3 separate regions of the Homo sapiens genome follow, and regions 1 and 2 are each linked to region 3. Evidence: promoter capture Hi-C in human tissues and cell types (Jung and others, 2019). All regions are on one chromosome and are shown on one strand. The core of a region is centred on a gene start or on the middle of the fragment in contact, and the rest is flanking DNA. Distances in the headings are between cores, read along the strand shown. Region 1 overlaps MGA (MAX dimerization protein MGA). Region 2 overlaps MGA (MAX dimerization protein MGA). Region 3 holds the start of JMJD7 (jumonji domain containing 7).

The links. Contacts are between HindIII fragments. The study calls those that stand out against the background at their distance.
Region 1: a fragment that was not itself captured here is called in contact with the fragment with the promoter of JMJD7 in region 3 in 3 of the 25 tissues and cell types used here (H1 embryonic stem cells, lymphoblastoid cells and mesenchymal stem cells).
Region 2: a fragment that was not itself captured here is called in contact with the fragment with the promoter of JMJD7 in region 3 in 3 of the 25 tissues and cell types used here (aorta, lymphoblastoid cells and mesenchymal stem cells).

What each region holds. Positions count from the first base shown.
Region 1 is chr15:41,733,280-41,735,979 of GRCh38, forward strand. It overlaps MGA (MAX dimerization protein MGA), which reads left to right. Exons shown (of 24, transcript NM_001400225.1): 12 at 1,243-1,315. Among named protein-coding and RNA genes, the nearest start is that of MAPKBP1, 40 kb to the right of the region's middle. The HindIII fragment of the contact is 3,107 bases long and covers 1-2,700 here.
Region 2 is chr15:41,755,740-41,758,439 of GRCh38, forward strand. MGA (MAX dimerization protein MGA) reads left to right here. Exons shown (of 24, transcript NM_001400225.1): 19 at 2,049-2,100. Among named protein-coding and RNA genes, the nearest start is that of MAPKBP1, 17 kb to the right of the region's middle. The HindIII fragment of the contact is 4,374 bases long and covers 1-2,700 here.
Region 3 is chr15:41,826,710-41,829,409 of GRCh38, forward strand. JMJD7 (jumonji domain containing 7) reads left to right here and starts at 1,383. Exons shown (of 8, transcript NM_001114632.2): 1 at 1,383-1,479. The coding sequence starts at 1,416. MAPKBP1 (mitogen-activated protein kinase binding protein 1) reads left to right here. Exons shown (of 31, transcript NM_014994.3): 31 at 1-1,146. It overlaps JMJD7-PLA2G4B (JMJD7-PLA2G4B readthrough), which reads left to right and starts at 1,383. Exons shown (of 25, transcript NM_005090.4): 1 at 1,383-1,479. The coding sequence starts at 1,416. RefSeq lists enhancers at 981-1,210, 1,242-1,536 and a silencer at 1,271-1,360. The HindIII fragment of the contact is 30,158 bases long and covers 1-2,700 here.

The sequences.
Region 1 (2,700 bases), core at 177-2,676, 93 kb before region 3:
CTTTCACTTAAAAAAAAAATTGGAACTAAGGAAAGAGGGCAGTCTCTCCTGATTAGTGAAAGTGGAATGATAAAAGAGTCTAGGTGGCAGTCTGTCCAACCCATGGAGGATTATATGAGAAACTGAGGCACACATTCACAGATAATTTAAATAATAAGTTCTGATTCCAGTTACCCTTGTAGTTAGGCTACACCTCTTCCCTTTCCATGGTTCAGCTGATGGCTGGGGGCTCCACCTTCGCTTGTACTGCCACCTCAACATCAGTGGTGACTCCCCGGAAAACCACTAAAGGTATAAATCAGCAGTTTTCTTTTAAACAGCAATTTGTTAATGACAAAAACAAAAAAATTTAAATGTGCATATCTTTTTGACCCTAAATTGTAAGTGTACATAGCATGAGGGCACAAAGATATGTGCATGTATGTATGTTTACTCAAACATACGCATATATATAGCTGTTCAGTGCACTATTGCCCTTACTAATGAGAAATTGGAGGCAGAATGCCTGTTAATAGAGGATTTGATAAATTAAAAAGTATTATTCTTTCTGATCCTGGAGTAATTTTAAAAATTCTAGTTTTATTAATTTGTCTGTAATTATTAGGGTGTGCATCTTTCCACATTGGCAAATTTTGTTTCTTTCTTTTTTTTTTCGAGATAGGGCCTCACTCTGTCACCCAGGCTGAAGTGCAGTGGCATGGTCTCGGCTCACTGCAACCTTCAGCTCAAGCGATCCTTCTGTCTCAGCCTCCCAACCAACTGGGACTATAGGTGTGTGCCACCATTTGTGGCTAAGCTTTTGTATTTTTGGTATAGATGGGGTTTTGCCTTGTTGGCCAGGCTGGTTTGAACTCCTGGGCTCAAGTGATCTTCCCACCTCGGCCTCTCGGAATGCTGGGATTGCAGGCATGAGCCACCGAGACTGGCCTCAACTGGTGAATTTTCTGAATAACTGTAGTTTGTTTCATTTAACAGTAAATATGTTTCCCTCTTTAAAGTACAATGTGAATTTTTTTCTTGATGACTCAGTCACTATCAAGGACATTAGGTAGCAAAACTATGTGTTTTTACCCAGGGTTTTATATGATAGTAACGTAGATGTGCATGTGGATTGAAGCTGTTGACATTTCAGTCATTCTAATGATTTAAACTTCTGTGAGAGATTTAATGCTTGTGTCCAAGTTTCTGTGGGTATTGAATATATGTTAAGTTAAAGTATTTCTGTGTTACTGTCTCCTTCAGGAACCTGATTCTGAACAGCAGCCCTTAAAACAACTCACCTGTGACTTGGAGGATGATTCTGATAAATTACAAGGTCAGAATGAAAACTAGATCTTAACATTTGATAAAAATTATTTAGGTCTAGATTATAGTAATAATGGGAGAAAACCCAAACCATCAATTCAGAATATGTCTGCCTACCCTGTTTCAAACTTATGCCAAAAACAGGGACAATAAGTAAAAGTTTTTTTTCCCCATTATTTGGTCTGTTAACACTCCTGCTCTCAAAAATAAAAGAAAATTCATTCATGTTGATAAAGCATGTTGTTGCAAGAGACATTTAGGTTGAGGTCAGTGAGTTTTTTTTTTTTTAACCTCTTTCCAAACCCCAGTAATATTGGCATCATTAGCCTTTGGTCCTCCATCACTGCCACCTCTGGGGAAATCTAGAAGGAGAAAGGAAGGAATATTACTGTGATTTAGCTGGCAGAGGCTACTGTCAGAATTACTTTGATGACAGGTAGTGGTCAGGTGGTTACCAATTTGTTTTTGGTTATGCTTCCCGAGACTTCTGACACTTAAGCAGCAGGGCTTCCTAACTTCTTAAAAAACGTCATGGTACATACAAATAATTAACAATGTTTCTATAGCACATTGCGGTAAGTGGAGGAGGCTACTAGGGTGGAGGGAACCTGCCTGAGAGCGTGAGCACCCTGAGGATTATGGGGGCCCTTGACATACCAGTACACTCATTGGGAAGCTGTGCTAAAGAAATCCAGGAGTCTAGTGAAATACATGTCTAGTCAACATGTTGCCATGGAAAGAATACTTTGGGTAGTTGAGTGATCTGCAAACAGTGTAGAAATGGAGCAATCATATCTAGAAGCACAGAAGTAATTCAGAGGTATTTGCAGTAGAAATTAGAGTTAGAGTGCACTTAAAATCAGAATACTACAGCTGGGCGCAGTGGCTCACGCCTGTAATCCCAGCACTTTGGGAGGCCGAGGCGGGTGGATCATGAGGTCAAGAGATCCAAGACCATCCTGGCCAACATGGTGAAACCCCGTCTCTAGTAAAAATACAAAAATTAACTGGGCGTGGTGGCACGCGTCCATAATCTCAGCTACTCGGGAGGCTGAGGCAGGAGAACCACTTGAACCTGGGAGGCAGAGGTTGCAGTGAGCTATCACGCCTCTGCACTCCAGCCTGGCGACAGAGCTAGACTCCGTCTCAAAAAAAAAAAAAAATCAGAATACTATTTTTCTTGCTGTTCTTTTGGATTGACTCTAATCTGTACATGTTTCAAAGCATCTAGCAAGTAGTTTCACTTTGCCTGTATGTATAGCAAAATAGTAACCTATACCAGTGAAGCTTAACCTTGGTTGTAGGTCATGGTTTGTTTGCAAGCTAACTCTAATGTAATAATTGTGGCATTTAGAGTAGTGTTAAGGGAACTACCTGTTAGAGCCCAGTCAGCAG
Region 2 (2,700 bases), core at 189-2,688, 71 kb before region 3:
TGGGCGTGGTGGCTCACGCCTGTAATTCCAGCACTTTGGGAGGCCGAGGTGGGTGGATCACCTGAATTCAGGAGTTCAAGACCAGGCGGGCCAACATGGCGAAACCCTGTCTCTACTAAAAATATGCAAATTAGCCGGGCTTGTTGGCACACGCCTGTAGTCCCAGCTACTCGGGAGGCTAAGGCAGGAGGATTGCTTGAACCTGGGAGGTGGAGGTTGCAGTGAGCTGAGACTGTGCCACTGTACTCCAGCCTGAGACACAGTGAGACTCCATCTCAAAAAAAAAAATTAAAGATTTAATTAGATTTGTTTAAATTAATTGTTTAAATTTAATTAAAAATACAAGTTAAAAGAATTGAAAAATTCTGTCAGAACACCGTGAAAACAGTGAAAAGCCAAACTCAGATATGAAGAAAGTGTTTGCCATACGTATTAACTAACAAAGGATTAGTGTCAAGGGTATAAAAAAATTGTTACAAGTCAGTAAGAAAAAGATGACCCAGTAGAAAAGTAATGGATATTAGAGACAGTTGACAGAAGAAGAAGAAACCTAAAAGCCCAGCAAACACATGTACATTTGTTCAGCCTCACAAGTAATTAAGGAAATACAGATAAAACCACAGTGACTTTACCAATTCACACCCATAAGACTTCAAAAGTGGAGATTTCTGGTGGTACAGTTATCTAGGTGTGGAGCAATGGGAACTCGCATACTGCAAGTGGGAGTGTACATTGTTATTACCAGTTTAACAGTTACTGAAGTTGAAGGTGTGCATATCTTTCCTCTGCTCCTATGCCCCAGAAAAATTTTCACAAGGGGTCGTGTATGGGACTGTCCATTGCAGCATTGTTTGCTATTATGAAGATTTAGAAACAACCTAAATAACTACTAACATTCTGAAAAAAAAATTCGGGGAAATTCACATTGTGGAATACTATATAACTATATAACAATTAAAACAATTGGAATTGGAACTCTGCGTATCAACATATCTCAGGTGTAATTTATTTGTACTTTTATTTTCGATATTTTTTGTAGAGACGGAGTCTTGCTATGTTGGCCAGGCTAATTTTGAACTCCTGGCCTCAACCAGTCCTCGTGCCTTGGCCTCCTAAAGTTCTGGGATTACAGGCATTAGCTACTGTGCCTGGCCTTCAGGTGGAATATTGAATGAAACAAATGAGTTGCAGAAAGATATAGTATAGTATATAATATTTAAAGTGGTACTTTTTTTGTTTAGATATATATATATATATTTCTAGTAAGACTTACAAAAGTGTGCATGGTAAACTCTGTCTTAGAATGGTTACTTTTGAGAAGGAAGGAAGGGAATGTGATTGAGTAGACTGCACATAGAACCTTCTGTATTTTTGAGATGTATTATTTCTCAAGCTAGATGGTTCATATGTGGGTGTTCATTATACGCTTGGTCCTCCTTCACGGATGGGAAGACCAAGTTTATAATGGAAAAGCATGTATCCACAAATATAGAAAGCATGTATTTGTGGATTCACCCAACTGTGGATTGGAAATACTTGGAAGAAGAAAAATTGCATCTGTATTGAACATGTATAGACTTTATTTTCATGTCATTATTCCCTAAACAATACAGTATAACAACTGTTTACTTAGTTTTTACATTGTACTAGGTGTTATAAGTAATGTAGGGATGATTTATAGTATACAGGAGGAGGTGCCTATGTTATATGCAAATACTATGCCATTTTATATCAGGGACTTGAGTATTCAAAGATACTGCTGGAAGTTTTGGAACGAGTCTTCCCTGGATACTGAAGGACAACTTTAAATTTGTTTATATGGTTTTGTATATTAAATATTTCATGATTGTACAAAGTAATTTGAAGTTTTAGTGACTATTTGTACACTTTTAGAGAAAATATATAATGTCAAGTAAATAATGTGGCCATATATCACACCTTGGGAAAAAGAAACTGGTTGTAATTTGGAATGGTTTGGTTGTAGCTGTGAAATAGGTCTTAGATTATTAAATTTCAGTAAGACACTGAAAAATCCTGTCTTTATCCAGGTCCTGTACTCACATCTCTGCAGATGAAAAAGCAGCTGAAAGGAGTCGAAAGGTATTTAGGATATATTTAGTGATAATTACTCATTGAATAAAATTGTTAACATTTATCTTAGGGTTGAAACAACATTAGCTATATTAGCCACGATTTTTTCTCAGGGCTATTTTTGCCAGTGAGTTAATATAATCAGTTTTTTCTCCTTAATCAAATTATACTGCTAATGTCCTTTTTTTCCCTTTTAATTCTTCTCCTCAGAGGATAGACTAATGTAGAGGAGTTAAAAATGGATATGAAATTTATGAGAATATATGTGGTTATTTGAAAACTGTTCTTGTAATGGTCTGATGTAAAACAAGGTGCCATTCTTTCTTGCTTGGGCTCATGATTTTAAGTGATTTAAAAAACTATGCTCTGCAAAATGGCTAGCAGTTAGGGATCCATGAAAAAATAAACCTTTAATTTTCTTAATCTTTTTGGTTTATATCATAGTAACATAATTAAGCAGGGTTTTTTGTTTATCCTAACCAACAGTAGGCATGGAGGAGAGTTTGGTTTGTTTAAATTGTTTTCCACTTGTTTTTCTATCTTAATTTAAAAGATTAAAAAAAGACAATGATGGGGGTTGGGTTGAAGTAGAGGGTGGCATTTGGTTCC
Region 3 (2,700 bases), core at 133-2,632:
CTGGGGCCAAAGGAGACACTAGAAAAGTGGTAGATGGGACAGGTAAGTGGCAGAGGTGAGGGGATAAGTTAGAATGTAAAAGGGCAGTAATTAGGGGTGAGGGAAAGGAGATAGGGGACCCTAGGAGGTAGAGTGGGACCATGTCGTGAGGCAGTTGAAGAGTTGAGGAAAGGTTTTTCTGGGCCCTACTGCTCCCCTCTGCTGCAGGTAAGTCAGAGCAGCTTTACCACAGCTTCAGGCCACGAGAGCCCCTTCACCCGCCCTGCTGCGCCATAGGCAGAGGCTTATAAAGAAATGGGTTCTGGGCCAGGTGTGGTGGCTCAAGCCTGTAATCCCAGCACTTTGGGAGGCCGAGGCGGGTGGATCACCTGAGGTTAGGAGTTCGAGATCAGCCTGGCCAACATGGTGAAACCCTGTCTACTAAAAATAAAAAAATTAGCTGGGCGTGGTGGTGGGCGCCTGTAATCCCAGCTACTCGGGAGGTTTAGGCAGGAGAATCGCTTGAACCCTGGAGGTGGAGGTGGAGGTTGCAGTGAGCCGAGATCGCGCCATTGCACTCCAACCTAGGTGACAAAGCTACACGCCATCTCAAAAAAAAAAAAGAAAAAGGGTTACAAAAGGTTCCCAGCTCCGGGGCATCAGCCTGAGTGCGCTTGAGCTGCTCCAAACCTGGCCCTTCCCCACTCCTCTAGCATCGCCACCCGCATGGCCCTGGAACTCCCGCGGCGGCGGGGGCGGGCCCGTGCCTGCTGTGCCCCGACTTCCCACACCAGCCGCGCCCACCGCAGGTGGGACTCAGGTTCGCCCTCTGGGCCAGGTCCTTCACGAGGAGGGAGCTACCCTTCGCCAGAAGTTTGTGAGAATGTGGCCGCCCTTTTCCTGCCCTCTGCCCCATGTGGGTGGGGGGCCTCGTGGCCCGGCCGGCGCCCCGTCCCCTTCTGCATGTCTGAGGCCACCGGCAACCGCCGCCCCACTCCAGATTTGCCCCCGCCTTGTTTTGAAAGCCCCTTATTTATAACTTTTATACTTTGTGCAGGTCGCGGCGCTTCCTGCCTCATCCTCGGCTGCATGGGGCGGGGGCGCTGTTTTTAACGTGCCCGTTTGTACTGATGTATGAACTTGTCAATAAACACAATTGTTTGTTAACCCTGGGATGCCGGCCAGTGGGGCAGGCCGAAGCGGGCGCTGCCAGTCGCTCCACCGCTTCGGTGGCAGAACCCGGTGTGTGTCCAGGGGCAGGACGGGGCGGGGTGCTGGGGGTGTGGCCTGCGGCGGGTGCCTCTGGAAGGGCGGGGCGAGGGTCTGGGGGTGTGGCCTGCGGCGGGGACTCTGGGGAGGGCGGGGCGAGTGCTTGGGGTGTGGCCTGCGGCGGGGCGTCGGGGAAAGGCGGGGTCTCGGCCGGCGCTGACGCAGCCATGGCGGAGGCGGCTTTGGAAGCCGTGCGGAGCGAGTTACGAGAATTCCCGGCCGCTGCAAGGGGTGAGTGGCTCTCCCACAGGCTGCGGCGATTTCCGAACACGGGAGGGGCCCTGGGATGCCGCTGACACCGGGGGCTCGGAACCTCGTGTGTGCGACTGCCCTGAGGCCCCGCTCGGGTTGCTCTTCTGTGGCAACCTGCTTCCCTTCTCCCGTGTTCGCGCGCTCCCGCGGCTTCCTGGGTGATTCTGTTCACGTTGTTCCCAAGGCCCGGTGCCGTCTTGACCGTGGTCGCGGCGAAGCCCTGTGTTTCCTACAGTCTTGAGCAGCTTGCTGTTACCCTTGTTGAAAGCTCATCGAAGGCACACAGCTGGTGGTCGGATTCCTCCCCCACGCGCCCCACCTCCGACCTCAACTCCCTTGTCGCACTTTGGGAGGATTGCAGGCTGACCAAATGGTCCCTGGCTCTTCCCCTGCTTGGTTTTTATTCCTTTTCTTTCTTTCTCTCTTCCCTCCTTCCTTCTTTTTTCTATTTTTAAATGATTTCTTACCACTGAACAGCAACACAGGCTCATGTGTATGTGATGGGTATGTAATATACAGTGGTACGCAATGTAAATGAAGCAAGGTTTCCTCCCAGCCCCAGTTTGCATTCTTACAGAAAGATTGTTTATATCCGTGCACACACGACTTTTTACCCTTTTTTTGTACAAATAGTAGCCTGCTAAACACACTCTTCTGCACCGTGTATCTTGGAGATCATTTCACATTCCTCTACCTCAGTCTTTTTCACGTCTGTGTGCTAGTGCTGTATTCACTTAGTCATTTAGGTCATGTCCAATCCGTTGTTTTCAATAATGCTGCAACGAATACTTTGAGGATTGATTTAACAAATACTTATTCAGCATCTCTGTGTGCCAGGCTCTGTTCAGTGTGTTTGAGATACATCACTGAACAAAACAAATCTGTCTTTTACAGTCTATGTCCTGTTACATTCTAAGTGAGAACGTGGACAATCAACCACAGGTGTACTGAATGAGTACATTGTAGAGTAGAAGAAGTAGGTTAGAAGGTAAGTGCAGGCAAAGCCCTCTTTGGGAGTATGCCTGATGTGTTTAGGAAACAGTGAAGAAGCCAGTCTGCAGGAGCAGCGTCTTCTGCGCATGTGTGAGTATGTTTGTTGGTTAAATACTTTATATTTTTTGAGACAGGGTCTTACTCTGTCACACAGGCTGGAGTGCAGTGGCACGATCATAGCTCGCTGCACCTCGACCTCCCAGGTTC